Regions from separate parts of the Homo sapiens genome. Here regions 1, 3 and 4 are each linked to region 2. The links are contacts of gene promoters, found by promoter capture Hi-C in blood cells and fetal thymus (Javierre and others, 2016). All regions are on one chromosome and are shown on one strand. Each heading gives the region's core, a stretch centred on a gene start or on the middle of the fragment in contact. The rest is flanking DNA. Distances are from core to core; before and after follow the strand shown. Region 1 overlaps GTF3C3 (general transcription factor IIIC subunit 3). Region 2 holds the start of SF3B1 (splicing factor 3b subunit 1). Region 3 overlaps C2orf66 (chromosome 2 open reading frame 66). Region 4 overlaps GTF3C3 (general transcription factor IIIC subunit 3).

Region 1 (3,494 bases), core at 786-3,285, 670 kb after region 2:
GTCTTGCTCTGTGGCCCAGGCTGGAGTGCAGTGGCACGATCTTGGCTCACTGCAAGCTCCGCCTCCCGGGTTCACGCCATTCTCCTGCCTCAGCCTCCTGAGTAGCTGGGACTACAGGTGCCTGCCACCACGCCCAGCTAATTTTTTGTATTTTTAGTAGAGACGGGGTTTCACCATGTTAACCAGGATGGTCTCGATCTCCTGACCTTGTGATCCGCCCGCCTCAGCCTCCCAAAGTGCTGGGATTACAGGCGTGAGCCACTGCGCCCGGCACAATTGTTTTTCTATTACTGTTCAGTTTAAACAAATGAATATATATTTTATAGTGATGCTGTTTTTATATATAAATTTACTATTTGAATATTTTATACATATTTATATATGTATTTCATACATATTATTTATATATGCATATGTATATATAAAAATAGGTGTATACGCATATTCATATATACATATTTATATATATTTTTATATGTATAAAAACACTATTGTTTACTCACACCATTTATTAATCTTTGCATTTAATACTATAGTCCTGTCAATATTACTGGAGGCAGTTTTCAAATACACCTAAGAGATTGTTTATTAAAGGTTGTTTATACAGTGTTATTTCATAAATATTGTTACATCTTGTTAATTGAGCTTTATAGGTATCATTTTTAATTGTTGCAGATTTTTTTTTCAGTTGACCCAAAGTTTTTGTATTGGGGAAGATTAGAAACATAGGTCTAATCTAGTCCATTGAATTCATTGCATTGTTATGTATGTGGGAAAAACTATAATACCCCTGAGGTAATATTGGAGTCAATTTGTTGTATCCCTCCTAAACCTACACTTTATATGCCTTTCCGTGATAGCATAGGAATTGTTTTCCCATTGGCTCATTGGTGTTCATTTAATACTATGTTATTTTTACACAGAGAAGTTTTTTATGAAGTCATACCAATCTTTCCCTTTATAGTTGCTACTTTTGCTATCATAAAAAGGACCTTTCCTATCCAAGATTATATTATCCCATTGTATTTTTTCTTTTATGGTTTCTTTTTTAACTCTAAAATCCAAAATTCATCTGGCGTTTATTCTGCCGTAGCTTGTGGGTGAGACTTTAAATTACTGTTAAAATATTTGATGATGCTGTTAACTGAATCAGCATTGATCCAAGGTATATGCATAGTTTTATAATTTTTTTTTAGTACATGAGCTTTAATACCTTTTGAAAACTTACTTACACTTATAAAACTATTAATTTGCCATAAAATTGTCCCGGTTGACAGTTGGAAATATTAAACATAAAGGTATCTTTTTCTCCCTAGGGTATAGAACTTGACCAGTTAGACTTACGAAGAGATATTGCCTACAACTTGTCTCTCATCTATCAGAGCAGTGGGAATACCGGAATGGCTCAAACGCTTTTGTATACCTATTGTTCTATATAAAGCACCGCAACTGAGAACAGAGCAATGGCAGCTGCTGTGTGAGGACCAGTGTCTTCTGTCTCAGGGCTTATTATTTGTAACTCCAAAATAGAAATGACAATTTCAGAATTACCTAACAAACAGTGTATTTATTTTTAATATGTGATAATGATCTTGTGGTATATATGCAAAATTATTCCTACAAAAATTTGTATATTGGTCTGTCATTTTCCTTTCACATTCTATAGTGAATTGTTCCCAATGTTGAAATGGACGTGTAAGCCTTTGAGCTAGCTTGGAGTCGAATACACTATTTTTCACTCACACCATTTATTCATCTTTGTATTTAATACTATAGCTCTGTCAATATCACATGAGGCAGTTTTTCAAATACGTATAAACAGAGGTTGCTTATTATTAAAGGAAAGACAAAGTGGGACTCTTTATGATGTCATGACCATGATAACTAAGCACCTAAGAAAATTATTTAAAATAGTTATGTGGTAGGCAGAAAGACAAATAATTTAGTTTTTTACTTTTCACCAGCATGTATCTTAGCTACCTAAACTGAAACATGGGAGGCTGGGCTTAATTCAAAATATATTGCTCCAAGGCAAATAAAAAAATGCTTTATCTATATTTGTGGCTTTCTGATGAAAAAATAGAGAAGAGCTTGTTCAATAACAGGACATGGTTTCCATTTCAAGATCACAAGTAATATAAGACTGGGCAAGTAGTACGTATGGAATAAAGGACATACTGCTGATTGATAAAGTAAAAAACTTTTTTTTTGTTTGTTTACTCATCTCCACTATTTATTATATGTTCTTGAATTTAAGTTAACAGTACTTTTTAGATGATATACTGTTAGCTTAATAACAACTTTTTAGGGAAAAATAAATGCTGTAATTAATGTGCACATGGGTTAGTAACACCCAGCCCAATTGTGGGAGGGAAACAAGTAGAGGCTTAGGATCAAAGAAATAAAATTGGGACTTATTAGAAATTCTTACCACTGTTTCTACTGTACACAAAACTTTCTAGTTGAGCAGAATTTGTATGCAATAAGTAAATATATTGTATACTCCATGTGTATAATTTAAATGCATTTTATTTTTATAATTGAGGTTAACTGTTTCACATGCTTAATTTTTACTTTATGCCATTTATAGGTAATGGTAGAGGTAACTGAGATACAGTAATAAGTTAGACTTGTGTGTTGGAATTCTGTGGAACTGAGCATTCTGTGCTCCGAGTTTCTCTCTTAAATTAGCTCACTGGACTGTGGCTCCAGTGTCTACTAAATAGCCGTGGAGGAAATAAGTCTCCCTAAGGGAAAAAAAAACCAGCTGATATTGTATAGTTTTGTTTAGCTTTTAAAATCATAGCTTCCATTTGCTGAGTTTTTACTCTGCTACTGTATGCTAAGTATGGTGCTAAACACTTTGGATATGTTATCTCTGATTCTCTCAGGGAACTGCAAGGTAGTTATTATTGATATTGTCATCACCACTTTGTATCTAGAGATTAAATAGCATGTTCAAGATCACTAGTAAGCTGCTCCTTGCTCAGAGATTTTCCTTCAGAAGAACACAGTTGCTGTAGTTCAGAGTAACAACAAACATTAAGCATAAGGTTTGTTTTTTTTTTTTCTTTTGAGACGGAGTCTCACTCTGTCTCCAGGCTGGAGTCCAGTGGCATGATCTCTGCTCACTGCTACCTCCACCTCCCAGGTTCAAGCGATTCTCCTGCCTCAGCCTCCCGAGTAGCTGGGACTACAGGTGCCTGCCACCACCTCCAGCTAATTTTTGTATTTTTAGTAGAGACAGGGTTTCACCATGTTGGCCAAGATGGTCTCGATCTCTTGACCTCGTAATTCGCCCGCCTCGGCCTCCCAAAGTGCTGGGATTACAGGTGTGAGCCACTGCACCCAGCCAAGCATAAGTTTATTTTAGAAAGAAAAAAGACATTGGCAGTGTTTCTGTCTTCCAGGCCTTCAGCCCATCAAAGCCCCTGTATAAAAACATCTTTTGGGGTCTCTTTTTAAAAGCTCCTATTCTCTTACCTCCCATCCTC
Region 2 (3,101 bases), core at 217-2,716:
CCCATGTTGGTGGTACTAGCTACTCTGGAGACTGAGGCAGGAGAGTCTCTTGAACCTTAAGGTCGAAGTTAGGGTCAGCTGTGATCGCACCACTGCCCTCCAGCTTGGGCAACAAACCAAGACTGTGTGTCAAAAAAACAGAAAAAAAATCGTTTGTGTCACCTGATCTGAAGAAGGGAGGGAGTCTGGTGAGAGGGAAAGAGGGAGCAAGGCTGCAGGTCAGGAGTCACCAGGGACAGGTTATCTAAGCTCTCAGTCCAGTGCCATTGTCCATATATCTCCCACCTACCGCTAGCCTCAGGAAAATGGCTCCTCACTTTACCCAAAGTAGATATGGGGTCTTCCTGCAAGAGGAATACACCCATACCATTTCCCTCCCTTCAAACGACCATACTGACCCATGGTATGGTTAGTATTTGGGTTGCAGGTTTATCACATAGCGAGGTACTCCTCTCTTTGTGATGGCTCTAACCTTGATAACTACCTGTTTTCCTCGGCTGCTTCCGGGACCCATCTTTCTGAGCCTTTCTTTCTTTTTCATCGTCGAAGTCAAAGACCAGTGTGACAGTACAAGGTTATATTATAATTGATGCCCAGGAAAACAGACTGCCGTATTCTGATCTATTAAAATTCCTGATTTAGGAATACCGTCTAGGATTTAAGAGAAACATCTAATGAATGTTAATAATGACGATGAGTGGTTTTCTAGGAACCCATAAAGTAAAAGGCTTTAAAAGGGTGGCAAGATTGTCACTGTGCAACTCAGCAACGATTTGTGAGGCTCAACGAAATTCCTACCCAAATTATTTGCAATTATTAAACAGAAAGAATGAAAAATGACCTTGAATTACAGGGCGAAAGATGGGACTGTTAAGACTGTCTTCGTAACTAAGCACTGTAAAGACTGAGACAGCTGCAAGGGAAAGTTTTCCTCGAGCTCTTCCAGTGAATTTTGGGAAAAGGGATTGAATGTCTGAGGTCTCTTCCAGCTCTGAAACCGCAGCGTTTCGTACAGTGTTCATTTTTTTTTAATGGGAGGGGTCTCGGGGTCTTGCTCTGTCGCCCGGTCTGGAGGCTTGAGTACAGTGGCGCGACACGATTACGGCTCACGGCTGCCTCGAACTCCTGGGCTCAAGCGATGCTCCCGCCTCAGCCTCCAGAGTTGCTGGGACTCAGTGTCTGTTCTTAACTCCCTTCGTAGAATCCACTTTCCTCCAGGGCAAAGTTACTCACTTAAGGACCTTACGGCTCGGCTCGGGGATTTCCTGGGTCACCACGCAGGCGACTTCAGGGCCCAACCGTGTCTCCTCCCCCACCCACAATGCACCTCGCGGTTCCCTCTAGGTGGCAGTTCTGTCACGTGTCACCCGACGGAGCGCGCTCCCGTTTGGCGCACGCGCAGAGTGCAGCCCCCAGCTATTTTTCTCCGTGGCGGCGGCGACGAGCGGAAGTTCTTGGGAGCGCCAGTTCCGTCTGTGTGTTCGAGTGGACAAAATGGCGAAGATCGCCAAGACTCACGAAGGTAAGCGGTCTTTCCCTGCTTACGTGTTTTCTTCGTTGCTAGCCTAATAAAAGCCTTTTTTCCTAGGATTCTGCCTTTTTCTATGGTTTCTTTCGTAGGAGCTGAGCCCGCGTTTCGGGGCCAAGGGTCGTCTCCTCCGCGCCAGCGGCGCAGGCCACTGCCCCGCGTAATGGCGTCCTCCTCTTACACCCCCGACAGGCGCTTTGTTCAGTGTTTGGGACCTGCTACTTCAGAGTAGCTTCTCTTCTCTGACCAGAGGGCCTCGTTTAAGCGGCTTCCTCAGTAGGATTCGTGGGCAAGGGATCGGGGAAGCGGGCGTGGGGAGAAGGTCTCACTCGCCTCTCGACACTGTCGTCCCCATAGTTTGTGCAGAAGAGGGTCAGAAAAGCACTGAAATACGGCAGCCGCTTTTCCGGCAGACTGAATCGAATTTGGTTAAACCGAGATTCCGTTACTCCTACCCTTGTGTGTCTTCAAGCGTCAGTTACTTGTTTATTTTTCTTGCACGAAACGATTTGGGGATAAAATCTGGTAGTTGTTTTCCCTCCCTTAGTCACTTTTAGTATAATATTGATCTTTTTCTTTGGAGACTGGTTATTGGAGGAGCAGATGGAAGAGGAAAACATAAATTACTTTCATTAATGGCCGAAGCTTTCAAGCTAGTTGATCGTTTTATGGAATACAGAGTGTGCAAATTAGGAAAACGTTGGGAATAGACTGGAGTTCATTAGGAAGTATCCAGAGATGACAGAAAATGGGATCACTTTTCAGAAAAGACGAGGCATGAGAAGTTGGAACTGCATTCTTTGATTTCTGACTTGGAATCCGAGATTTTCACTGAGAACGAGACTTCTAAGTCACTTTTGTTTCATATGTTCTTTCTGGGTATTTGGCTCGGTATTAGTCTGTGAGAGGTAAGAGACTGAGGCCATCCAAAATTTTACAGTCTGATAGGAGAAACAGATGTGTATGTTCTCATTCTCTCATGAGGCCAGATGCATGCTTAAGTAGAAGAAAAAGCAGCATGTTCTGGGAACCTGGGTAACGGAATGATTATGTTTAGGGTTGTTTCACTGAGGAGGTTACATGACCGTGTTTTAAAAGGATCAGTCAGTTTTAAATCGGGAAGGACATCTGAGCCTGAGAACATCTTGTAACAAGGTATTGAATCGTGAAAGGTGTGTTTGAGTAGTAGTCCACTGTAGCAGGAACAGAGGGTGCAAGTAGAGAAGAAATAAATGAATCTGGAAAGGTTGGATTAGGACCAGAATGTGAATGGCTTTGAATAGTTGGGTCACCCAGAGGACCTGAAGTCCAGCTTTCTGCTATTTATCAAACATGCTAATGAATTGTCAATGACTTTAATATTAGTATACCATTTTAGGTATTTAGGATTTAAATGCTCTCTTAGTATTCCTAGGCTTTATTATTTTGTCTTTAGACTATCTCAAATATAACCTTTTGCAAAGTAAGTAGAAAATATAAAGTTGTGCTGTTTTTGTTCATTCAGGATGTTATTCATTTGGGGATATTGATAGTATAGCTTTGATACTTATTTATTGGTAACTTCAGTATAAGA
Region 3 (3,098 bases), core at 542-3,041, 630 kb after region 2:
TAGAAAAATTCAACCATTGTCATAGCTAAACTTTCATGGAGTTTCTTTCCCCCTCACTTTTATTTTTCAGTTTGTAATGATTTTATTCCACATTTCCATATTTACATATAAATCGCTGGAACTATGATTTCTATGCATATTTATGGAGTTTTTTTCCTATGAAACCATAAATATTGATGTAGAGCACCGCATGTATTTGTAGGAGTTACAAAAACATCACAAACTGAAAAAAGATTATAATCTAAATTAGATGTTTCTTTAAGCTTGTTTTTAAAACTTGTCTTTTATGTTTATTATCTTTTATCGACCAATATATTTTTTTAAAGGGACATGCTCACTTTTAGTATAGTAAAATTCATTATATGTGATAGAGGGTTGGGTTTAAAATTTGTCTTCCTTTCCTAAAAAGAAGATGCATTCCCATGTTCAGCATACACTACCAAAATACTTCACAGTTTTAGTTTCATAAGAAATGAGGGCAAGTGATAAACAGCCACAATTAAGTTAAAATGGAAGCAAACAACAACAACAAACATGGGATTCTAGAAGTTGTCAACGCCTCCAAAGATGCTCTTTGCCAGAGTATTCAGAGGTGGACATTGTGCCACATCAAATATTCTAGCAATGCCCGAGCCCTTGCTCTCATACACAACCTCCTCAGGAAGGAAAAGTAGAAACAGGTGATTTCCTCTCTTTCCAACCAGCCCCTGCTCTCCTTACTCTAGCTCATGCTGAGTTATTCTGATTCCCATACTCACATTTGGAATAGCTGCTTTTCCTGTATCTTTATAGATAGCTGCATCATCTTCTCTGTGATTCCTGCAAAAGGAATGTTGCACTAAAATGCAACATTGTCCTAACATTAGTCTGTGCATTTCAAAATATTTTAATGTGGCTTTTTTGGGTGGATTATTGATATTGTATATGAAGAATAAAATATTTGTGCAAGAACAGATTTTGTGTCTGGTTTAAGATGTTCTATTGTAATTAGTCGTATATGTGTCTGTTTCCCCTGAAGAGTCGTGAGGTCTTTGTGAGCAGAGACCATATCTAATTCACCTTTATTTCCCCAGCACCTAGTACAATGCCTAGCATGGAGCAAGTGTTCAATAGATACTTGTTGAATTGAAATAAACACGTGCTATTCATCCAGTTTTCACACAGTAATGGAATCTGCTTTTAGTTAATGTCAAAACTTTTTTTCTTGCCATTTAAAAAGTGTAAGTAATTCTTGATGAGCTATTCTTCAGAAAAGCATAGCTTATTCATATAAATGGTAGAGTGGTAGGGAGTTTTTCACCTCTGTCGAGTTCCAAGTACTAGTGGCTGGTTTTCACTTTCTTACTACTATCCCTGCTCTCGGTGTTAAGACCTCCACAAAGGGAATGCTCATCAGTTTCAGGGCATTGAAAAGGAAGGGCGTCCACATGGGGCATTTAGCTATGAGCTTGCAAAGTTTTGGGGCACGGGCATTCATCCTTCAACTGGATTATTATTATTTTTTGTTTTGACACGGAGTCTCACTCTGTCGCCCAGGCTGGAGTGTAGTGGCACAATCTCGGTTCACTGCAACCTCTGCCTCCTGGGTTCAAGCAATTCTCGTGCCTCAGCCTCCCTAGTAGCTGGGATTACAGGCGCCCGCCACCACGCCTGGCTAATTTTTGTATTTTTAGTAGAGACAGGGTTTCACCGTGTTGGCCAGGCTGGTCTCGAACTCCTGACCTCGTGATCCGCCCACCTCGGCCTCCTAAAGTGCTGGGATTACAGGCATGAGCCACTGTGCCCAGCCCAGCTGGAACATTTTTATGGATGGAAGCCCATACCTCACACTGACTAGAGTTTCTTAATGGTAGTGCTATTGGCAGTTGGGGGAAGCCAAATTATCACTGTGCGTGATCATTTAGTACACCTGGTCCCCAGATACTCTATGTTAGTAGATTCCCCATCTCTGCCCTATTTTTTTATTTTTATTTTTTATTTTTTTTTGAGATGGAGTCTTGCTCTGTCGCCAGGCTGGAGTGCAGTGGCACCAGGCTGGAGTGCAGTGCAGTGGCTTTGAAAAGGAAGGGCATCCACATAGGACATTTAGCTATGAGCTTGCAAAGTTTTGGGGCAGGGGCATTCATCCTTCAGCTGGAAATTTTTTTTTTTGAGATGGAGTCTCCCTCTGTCACCCTTGATCCCTTGACCTCGTGATCCGCCCACCTTGGCCTCCCAAAGTGCTGGGATTACAGGCGTGAGCCACGTGCCAGGCCTGCCCTATCATTTCGACAATCAAAACCTCCCGGGGGCCTGGCGTGGTGGCTCACGCCTGTAATCCCAGCACTTTGGGAGGCTGAGGTGGGCCTGAGGTCAGGAGTTCGAGACCAGCCTGGCCAACATGGTGAAACCCTGTCTCCTGTAAAAATACAAAAATGAGCCGGGCGTGGTGGCTCGTGCCTGTAGTCCCAGCTACTCAGGAGGCTGAGGCAGGAGAATCACCTGAACCCCGGAGGCGGAGGCTGCAGTGAGCCTAGATCACGCCACTTGCACTCCAGCTTGGCGACAGAGCGAGACTCCGTCTCAAACAAACAAAACCCCCAAAACCTCCCTACACACATTTCTAAAATTCACTAGTGAAATGATTTTGCTCTTGGCTGAGAACTAATGCCAGAACATAGATGAAGTGTATGTAGTGTTTGCGCCAATGCAAATAAATGTTCTGCAGGTGTTTTATGTTCTGGAGAAGTCTCTGGTACTTCTCTATATAGGTCCTTGGCAATCTCTCAACACTGAGAGGAGCTTCTGCTCCTCTTCAGTGAGCACCCCATTCCCCGGCACTTGGCCTATTGTCCTCTGTCCCAGATCTAGGGTGGCCAAGAACTGTTAAGAGTGTGAGCTTTTATCCTACTTGCAAGCTACACACTAGCTTTCTACCCTTTCATCAAACTTGGCAGATACATGAGACACCTTATGTCTGAGACAACTGACTTTCTTACTGATGGCATGGCAGGTAGTGACATAAGTTTTACATTCACATCAGTTTTCCTGACTCCCCAAGTATCAAGGGAGCCATGTGAATGTGGGTCCAGGGGTATGCAGTGCACAACTGGGTTTGT
Region 4 (3,597 bases), core at 753-3,252, 650 kb after region 2:
TTACTGTCATAATTTCTGCTTAAGATTTTTCTTCTTAATTGTGTTGAAAATCTGTCCTTTGTTTGGAAAACTTGGTAGAGAAATACCAAGTTCTGTTCAAGTTTTAATTGTAGATATAATCATTTTGTTGTTTAATATATTTTACTTCCCTCCCTCCCTCCCTCCCTCCTTCCCTCCTTCCCTTCCTTCCTGGCACATATTAACATAAATCAACAACAGGTTAGAGTTTAAGTAGTGGCTTCTTTATTTTTTAGCATGTAAAATAACGGTGCATCTGAAATCTGGCAGCTTAGTGTTGATGAAATAACTTTAAAGAAAAAGATATGTCCAGAAGACTAGGAGATTAAAACAGATACAAAGTGAGCAAAGGTAGTTTTTTAGTATGCATTTTAAAAAATGAGACCATTTATGGTAGATTATGTATTGTCTATTGACAGTCACATTTTTAAATTCTTCTGAATGTGAAAGACCTAATGGGAGTTCAGGAGAATAAAGTATCAGTGACACAAAGACAAGCTTTTTAAAAGATAGTGTATGTTAAATGTTAGTTAATAATATATAAGCTGTAGGGGCTATAAATATATATACTGCTTTCCTTAGCATTGTCAAGTTGCCATTAAAGTATCTAAATACTTACTCTCAATCTCCATACTTACCTGATTGAACTGGTAACAGTTTGTTTACCTGCACAGGTCCCAGACTAGTTTGAGTAGCACTGCCCTGTAGCATTATGAAGTGACCTCCTTACCTTTTTAAATATAGTTGGTCTGAATTCTACATTGTCTCATATTGAGATTGTGACACCTATTTTTTTTTTTTGTTTGCACCTGCCTGCTATACCTTTGTCCTTTTATTTTCAGCTTTCCTGAATCACTTGATTTTAGGTATACATCTTGCATTCAACATAAGGTTGAGTTTTACTTTGTGATTTGATATGAAAGCAGGGTTTTTGACCTATGCATCTATACACACTATATTTTTAAGGCCTATGCCGAGATATAAAGTATTTCATATACTATAATTTTCTTGCTGAAAGTTAAAACACGTAGATATATTTTATTGAACAGTGTCTTAGTCCGTTTGGACTCTCTAACAAAAGACCTTAGACTGGGTAATGTATAAACAACAGAAATTTATTGCTCACAGTTCTGGAGATTAGGAAGTCCAGGGCACCAGCAGATTTGGTGTCTGGTGAGGGCCCTTTTCTCATAGATGGTGCCTTCTTGCTGTGTCCTCACGTGGCAAAAGGGACAAACAAGCTTCTTCAGACCTCTTTTACAAGGGCACAAATCCCACCCACATAGGCACCTCCCAAGACCCACCTCTTAATAACCTTGGGCATTAGGTATCAACACAGGTATTTTGGTGGGACACCAACATTTCAGACTGTTAGCAAACAGCATTTCTAGAATGAAAATCAAAGTGATACAGTTGGAATGTAGAACCCATACATGATAAAGATAGAATCAGATTTTAGTAAAGAAAAAGGCTCATTAAAATGACTGCATTGTGTTTAGTCCTTACTCAGACAGGTGACTTTAGCTACTGTCTACAGAAGAAATGTGCTGTGGATACAGCCTTGAGTCAGACATGGTTCTTGTCCTCATGGAGCTCAGGGCTTAGTGTGAGTAAATTTACATGGTAGGTAAATTCTGCTCTCTCGTTGAGCAGACTAAATATATTAATTGGATTTCTGATACCAGTTATTGGCTTAGAGCTCAGTGATAAAAACAGTCTCTTAATTAAACTTGTCCGAATCCTCCTATAACTTGGTAATTTTAGGCAATATAGTCTCCCCTCAGTGTTCATGAGAGATTGGCTCCAGGACACCCCTCATACCAAAATCCTTGGATACTCAAATCCCTTATATAAAATAGTGTATTATTTGCATATAACTTATGTACCTTCTCCTGTATACTTTAAATCATCTCTAGATTACTTATAATATTAATGGTAAAACCACAATTACTTCTGCACCAACCTAATAATACAATGTAAATGCTATGTAAATAGCTGTTAAACTGTATTGCTTCTTAAGTTTGTATTATTTAATTTTATATATATATATATATATATATATATATATTTTTTTTTTTTTTTTCCCCTTAACATTTTTGATCTGCAGTTCATTGAATCTGCATATGTGGAACCTGAAGGTATGGAAGACTGTCATAATTTATATGACAAGTTCTGTAAAACAGATAGTTATTTAATTCTTGAATAATTTTTTATTTCACCACTTAGGATACATCTGTGATGTCCTCTATACTTCAGGTTTTTCTGAAACGAAAACATGTAAACTTATTTGGAATTTATTAGACTTTGCAAACTACTTTAAATGTGGATAAAAATTCCTGTAATTTCCCAGGGCTTTAAAAATTATTTTGTTGTAATGAGGTTTTAGAAAATAACACAGTATTATTTTATCCTTTTCTTAGCCTGTTTCTAGTGAACACTAAAAAGAGACTTTTCAATTCAAGAAAAAAAAGAGAGAGGGTTCATATATCCTCATTATTTTTGTCTTTTTAGTTCTCCGTAGTTTAGTAGAAGGTGTGAAAGTAAGTTTTGGATAAGTACATAAGGTATTAGAAATCGAATAGGAAGCATACTTGCTACCAAAGGACAGACTGAGAGAGATATAAGAACTTATTAATAGAGTTGGCCACACTAAGAATTGACTGTGGAATCATTTGCTTTGAATGAAATAAATGAGATCTTACATAGAAGATACACATCTCAAGCTTGCATATAGTAACTGCTTCTTGTCTGTGTATTCTCCAGCTCCTGAGAATGTTACCTGCACTATACCTGATGGCGTGCCAATAGATATCACAGTGAAGTTGATGGTCTGCCTTGTACATCTCAACATTCTTGAACCACTTAATGTATGTAACAAGATCTGCACTTGAGATACTTCAGATCAAATGCACCATCTCTTTTCTTTAGATGTCAAGAAATTATAACTTGACCCTAGAGTTTCACATTTCTTAATAACCAAGGAGGTAACAATAAGCATCAAATAATTTTGTATGAATATCTTATAAAAACTAAAATTGTTTTGCAATTGGGCTTACAGTAATTTATTTTTCTTTTAAAATAACAATCTAAAGATCATAATTTGAGATTGTCTTTAGACCATTTGAGATTGTCATTAGATAATTGGTAATAATTCTGACAGCTATTCTTTTTTGCGGACTTTGGACCAAGTATATTATTGAAAAAAAAAAAGTACTTAGCATCTACTTTGTAAACCTTAGGATAAGATATTGAGTAAAATATACAAATCCATACCCTCATGGGTTGGGATGCTTTTTTGTTTTAATGGGATTAGATAATAAAATAAATACATAACATATACGGGACATTGGCTGGTGATAAGTGTTCTGGAAAAAAAAGGAGGAAAATAAGGAATATTGGGGGCAGGGGAAAGTTGCAGTTTTCAATAGGGGATCAGGTGACATTTGGCTGGGCACCATGGTGCACACTTATAATCCCAGCACTTTGGGAGGCTGAGGCGGGCAGATCTCTTGAGCTCAGGAGTTCAAGACCAGCCTGGGCAACATGGTGAAACCCTACGCCTACAAAAAATACAAAAAA

Evidence for each region. Contacts are between HindIII fragments. The CHiCAGO score rates a contact against its expected background, and 5 or more counts as called.
Region 1: a fragment that was not itself captured here is called in contact with the fragment with the promoter of SF3B1 in region 2 in 1 of 17 cell types (monocytes); the score reaches 5.7 in monocytes.
Region 3: a contact is called between a fragment that was not itself captured here and the fragment with the promoter of SF3B1 in region 2, in 7 of 17 cell types (naive B cells, total CD4 T cells, total CD8 T cells and 4 more). The highest score is 6.0, in naive B cells.
Region 4: a fragment that was not itself captured here is called in contact with the fragment with the promoter of SF3B1 in region 2 in 1 of 17 cell types (total B cells); the score reaches 5.4 in total B cells.

The regions. Positions count from the first base shown.
Region 1 is chr2:196,762,508-196,766,001 of GRCh38, reverse strand. It overlaps GTF3C3 (general transcription factor IIIC subunit 3), which reads left to right. Exons shown (of 18, transcript NM_012086.5): 18 at 1,317-2,967. The coding sequence ends at 1,439. Among named protein-coding and RNA genes, the nearest start is that of GTF3C3, 35 kb to the left of the region's middle. The HindIII fragment of the contact is 6,544 bases long and covers 1-3,494 here.
Region 2 is chr2:197,433,393-197,436,493 of GRCh38, reverse strand. SF3B1 (splicing factor 3b subunit 1) reads left to right here and starts at 1,466. Exons shown (of 25, transcript NM_012433.4): 1 at 1,466-1,522. The coding sequence starts at 1,495. RefSeq lists enhancers at 1,018-1,067, 1,088-1,397, 639-1,838, 1,583-2,129. The HindIII fragment of the contact is 13,845 bases long and covers 1-2,175 here.
Region 3 is chr2:196,802,272-196,805,369 of GRCh38, reverse strand. It overlaps C2orf66 (chromosome 2 open reading frame 66), which reads left to right. Exons shown (of 3, transcript NM_213608.3): 3 at 1-953. Among named protein-coding and RNA genes, the nearest start is that of GTF3C3, 4.1 kb to the right of the region's middle. The HindIII fragment of the contact is 3,051 bases long and covers 266-3,098 here.
Region 4 is chr2:196,779,847-196,783,443 of GRCh38, reverse strand. It overlaps GTF3C3 (general transcription factor IIIC subunit 3), which reads left to right. Exons shown (of 18, transcript NM_012086.5): 9 at 2,782-2,885. Among named protein-coding and RNA genes, the nearest start is that of GTF3C3, 18 kb to the left of the region's middle. The HindIII fragment of the contact is 1,482 bases long and covers 1,262-2,743 here.